Linked DNA regions of Homo sapiens: region 2 is linked to region 1. The links are contacts of gene promoters, found by promoter capture Hi-C in human tissues and cell types (Jung and others, 2019). All regions are on one chromosome and are shown on one strand. The core of a region is centred on a gene start or on the middle of the fragment in contact, and the rest is flanking DNA. Distances in the headings are between cores, read along the strand shown. Region 1 holds the start of LGALS13 (galectin 13). Region 2 has its middle 17 kb from the start of LGALS14.

Evidence for each region. The method cuts DNA at HindIII sites, captures the fragments that hold promoters and counts their contacts. A contact is called where the count stands out against the background at its distance.
Region 2: a contact is called between a fragment that was not itself captured here and the fragment with the promoter of LGALS13 in region 1, in 2 of the 25 tissues and cell types used here (mesendoderm cells and neural progenitor cells).

Annotation. Positions count from the first base shown.
Region 1 is chr19:39,601,250-39,603,783 of GRCh38, forward strand. LGALS13 (galectin 13) reads left to right here and starts at 1,275. Exons shown (of 4, transcript NM_013268.3): 1 at 1,275-1,334. The coding sequence starts at 1,320. The HindIII fragment of the contact is 10,640 bases long and covers 1-2,534 here.
Region 2 is chr19:39,686,526-39,689,059 of GRCh38, forward strand. No RefSeq gene overlaps it. Among named protein-coding and RNA genes, the nearest start is that of LGALS14, 17 kb to the right of the region's middle. The HindIII fragment of the contact is 8,167 bases long and covers 1-2,534 here.

The sequences.
Region 1 (2,534 bases), core at 25-2,524:
TAAATTAGTTCACCCATTGTGGAAAGCAGTGTGGTGATTCCTCAAAGAGCTAACAATAGATCTACCATTCAACCCAGCAATCCCATCACTGGGTGTATACCCAGAAGAAAAGAAATCATTCTGCCATAAAGACATATGCACATGAATGTTCATTGCAACACTATGCACAATAGCGAAGACACAGAATGAACCCAAATGCCAATCAATGACAGATCGGTTACAGAAAATGTGGTACATGTACACAATGAAATACTATGCAGTCCTAAAAAAGAATGATATTATGTCTTTTGCAGGAACATGGATGGAACTGGAGGCCATTATTCTTAGCAAACTAATGCAGGAACAGAAAACCAAATACTGCATGTTCTCACTTATCAGCGTGAACTAAATGAGGAGGCTCATGGACATCAAGAGGGAAACAACACACACTGGGGCCTCCTTGAGGGTGGAGGATGAAAGGTGGAAGAGGAGAAAAAAAATAACTTTTGAGTACTACACTTAGTAACCAGGTGAAGAAATCATATACACCACAAATCCCATGACACGACTTTATCTGCATATGTACCCCGAACCTAAAATAAAATGAAAGAAAAATCAAATAAAAACAACAATCTCACCTTCCTCCCAGAATCTGCAGGAGAAACAGTGTCTCTGAAACTTTTATTTACATGGACACCAAGAGAAAGGAGAGGGTGTAGCTAGAGCCCAGGTGTGTGACAGTCAGGTGAGAGTGGCCCTTACCTGGCAGAGCCAAGCAGCCTAGTGTGGAATAGGTTCATGCAAGAAATTTCTCTGCTTCTCTCCACAGATCCTCCTGAGGATCAAGGTCAGTGCTCTCCCAGAACGTTCAAAAGCAGAGAGAATCATTACCTTCTAGGGCTAATGTATTTCCCCAAAATCTCCAACTTTTTTCTTTTCAGCCGTTGTACAAATTGGGAAAATGTACACTTTCTGGGTATATTCTGCATAGATGAGAAAAGGCTTGAGAGGCATAAAGGCTGGGCTTTACAACCACTACCGCTCACTCCATCATCTTTATCTATGCATTTCCCTGGTAACCCAATCCACAGCCTGGTAACTCCCCCACTGTCACTTCTGCTGCATTACAGATACAGACCTGCAAATAGCTATGGTTGTGACTGAGTTTCTTCCTAACAACTAAACCTGTCTAAAGCTGCAAGGAAATCTTGCTGGGAGGAGCTTGGAATCTGGAATGAAGCCCGAGGGCAAGGCTGAAGTGGGTCATTTAAATGCTGCAACTCAGAGATTCACTCAGAAGACTGGACTCAATTCTGAAGGTCGCCAAGAAGGAGAGAACAATGTCTTCTTTACCCGTGAGTTGAAAAGGCACAGCCTTCAAAAATTTCGTGTCACACAAACCAAGAAAGAAATGGGAGATTTTATGAGATGAAAATATGAGCATTTTTGCTGTGAATGCTTTACTTAGAGCTATTGAGGTGTGGAATAGAAACCCTGAGGCTATGGTATCTGAGATGCTTGTGGGGATTGCGGTGTGGACCCTGGACCAGTGTAACCTTCGGTGAGTGTGAGGTGGTGTCTGATGAGCATAAACTCTGCGGAGATAATGTGACTTTAAGTGGGAGGTGGATTACCCACCAGGACGAGCAGGTGTGTGAATGGAGAGTAAAGGGGTGAGTCGGCTTTGTTTCCTGTCTATGATGTGAGTATGTGTGTGAGCACAGCCAGACCAGTGCATGAGCATCGTTATGTGCACAGTGAGCAGGTGTGTGTGACGCAGTGAGTGGTGTGGCTCTGTGTGACTGTGAGTGTGTGTGCTGGGATGTGACTGTATGTTGAAGTGGGATCATGCATGTGGCTTTCTTCACATGTGAATGTTTCTCCCCACACAGCAGCACCTCTGATGTGAATCCCATGTGGCTTAACTGGTGGGGATCTTGGGGATTGTGAGTTACCAAGGACTTATTTCAGATCACTTGTGAGAGCAGAATGTATGATCAGTAGATGTCTCTTCCCAGTAAGAGTGGGGAAGAGGAATGCAGACTATGGGGGTGATGGTTCCTCAGGTGGGGTCTGCACAGAGTGACCACTGTCTCTTGCCTCCCAGGCTCAGCTTGCCTGTCCCTAGCCCATCCAGTTCTTCCCACTGTGTGACAGGAGGGTGTGCAGATACTGGTTTGTTAGGGAAGGACATTAGAGGCCGTGATTTCAGAGACTGAATCACACAAAATATCCACTGTAAGCTCTGTCTGAACTGAGACTAAACTTGTTCTACACCCATGAAAGAACAAGTTAAGTCTCAGTTCAGAAGGAGCTTACAGTGGATATTAATCAACCAAGCAGCTGGGTTCACTGGCTTATGGCTATAATCCCACCAATTTTGGAGGCAAAGATGAGAGGATAACGAGGCCAGAAGTTTGAGACCAGTCTGGGTATCAGAGTGAGACCCTTTCTTTAAAAAACTTTAAATATTTGACTGGCAGAGAGGCAGGTACCTTTCTTCCCAGCTATTCAAGAGGGAGCAGATGTGTGAGATTCACTGCAGCCCAGGAGTC
Region 2 (2,534 bases), core at 17-2,516, 85 kb after region 1:
AGATACCTGAGGTGCCAACACACAGCCAGTGCTACTCCTCATTCCTTTCTTCCACGTTTCATTCCCATATGGAATGAAATTCCCTCCTCTCTCACTGGACACTCTTGGGTTCAGTTTAGGTCCACTCTCCTCCTTACACCTTTCTGCTCTCAGTGTTGTTCACTTTTCTATTTTGATAATAGGTCATAGGCCTCATCACCTGTATGGAATTCATTTTTTGTGGAATTTTAGAAGGTGACACTGACCTTATCAGGGGCTCACCTTCAGCCTAGCACCTAAATGTGCAGAGGCAAGTGGACAAAAAGGAACTGGGAATAGAGTCCAGGCTTCACTCAGTACCTCTTTGTAGTGACAGCAGAAAGAGTAGTATGGGTGGTGGGTGTGAGATGTTGTGTCACGGGAACGGAGAACAGGAAGTGTTTCCTGGGCACTGAGAAGTGTCTCCTGTCTCACGGTGACCTCTTCCCCAGCACAGTTTAGCTGCAGAATACACACTGTTGTCCTCAGCACATAGATCATTCTCAAAGATAGACCATATGTTGTCATGAAACCAGTCTTGAAACATTAAAAAAAAATTGAAATATGTAATCCCAGCACTTTGGGAGGCTGAGGCCAGTGGATCACGAGGTCAGGAGATCAAGACCATCCTGGCTAACACAGTGAAACCCCGTCTCTACTAAAAATACAAAAAATTAGCCTGGGCGTGGTGGTGGGCACCTGTAGTCCCAGCTACTCGGGAGGCTGAGGCAGGAGAATGGTGTGAACCTGGGAGGTGGAGCTTGCAGTGAGCAGAGATGGCGCCACTGCACTGCAGCCTGGGCAACAGAGCAAGACTCCATCTCAAAAAAAAAAAAAAATTGAAATAATATCAAGCCACTTCTTTGACCACAATGGAATAAAACAAGAAATTGGTAGCAAGAGGAGTTTTGGAAACTATCCAAATACATAGAAATTAAACAGTATGTACCTGAATGACCAGTGGGTCAATGAAGAAATTAAGAAGAAAATTAAAAGTTTTCTTGAAACAAATGATAATGAAAACATAACATACCAAAATGTATGGGATACAGCCAGGGCAGTATAAAGACGGAATTTTATAGCTCTAAGTCCCCACATCAAAAAAGAGAAAAGCTTCAAATAAACAATATAATGATGCATCTTAAAGAATTAGATAAGCAAGAGCAAACCAAACTTAAAATTAGTAGAAGAAAATAAATAATAAAGATCAGAGCAGATACAAATGAAATTAATAAAAAGTGTTTTTTCTGATAATTTAAACAAAATTAGCAAACCTTAGCCAGACTAAGAAAAAAGTAGAGAAGATATAGATAAATAAAATCAGAAATGAAAAAAAGACACATTACAACTGATACCACAGAAATTCAAAAAATTATTAGTGGCTACTCTGAGCAACTATACACCAATAAATTGGAAAATCTAGATGAAATGAACAAATTCCTGGATACTTACAACCTATCGATATTGAACCTGGAAGAAATTAAAAGCCTGAACAGTCCAATAATAAATAATAAAATAGAAGCCACAATAAAGTCTCCTCATAAAGAAAAGCCCAAGACCTGATGCCTTCACTGCTGAATTCTACTGAACATTTAAGAAAAAATTAATGCCAATCTTACCGATACTATTCAGAAAAACAGAGGAGGGACTATTACTGAACTCATTAAAAGAGGCCAGCATTATCTTGATATCAAAACCACACAAAAACCCACCAAAAAAGGAAGAGAAACCATAGGCCATAGGCCATAGGCCAATATCTCTAATAAATATTGATGCAAAAATCCTAAACAAAACACTAGCAAACCTGAAGGGGGCCTGCCCCTTCACACCTGTGGGTATTTCTCGCAAGGTGGAGATGAGAGACTGAGAAAAGGAAATAAGACACAGAGACAAAGTATAGAGGAAGAAAAGTGGGCCCAGGGGACCAGCACTCAGCAAGTGAGACCTGCACCAGCACTGGTCTCTGAGTTCCCTCAGTATTTATTGGTCACTATCTCTACAATCTTGGTGAGGGAGATGTGGCAGGACTATAGGGTAATGGTAGGGAAACCATTACCAAATCAGCAGGAAAACATATGAGCAAAGGAATCTGTGTCATAAATAAGTTTAATGAAAGGTGCTGTGCCTGGATGTGCACGTAGGCCAGATTTATGTTTAACTTTACACAAACATCTCAGAGCAGTAAAGAGTAGCAGAGCAGTATTGCTGCCAGCATGTCTCACCTCCAGCCATAGGGCGGTTTTCTCCTATCTTAGTAAATAGAATGTATGGTCAGGTTTTACACTGAGACATTGCATTCCCAGCGACGAGCAGGAGACAGATGCTTTCCTCTTATCTCAACTGCAAAGAGGCCTTCCTCTTTCACTAATCTCCCTCAGCACAGACCATTTACAGGTGTCAGGCTGGGGGACTGTAAGGTCTTTCCCTTCCCATGAGGCCATATCTCAGGCTGTCTCAGTTGGGTGAAACCTGGACAATACCCAGGCTTTCTTGGGCAGAGGTCCCTGCGGCCTTCT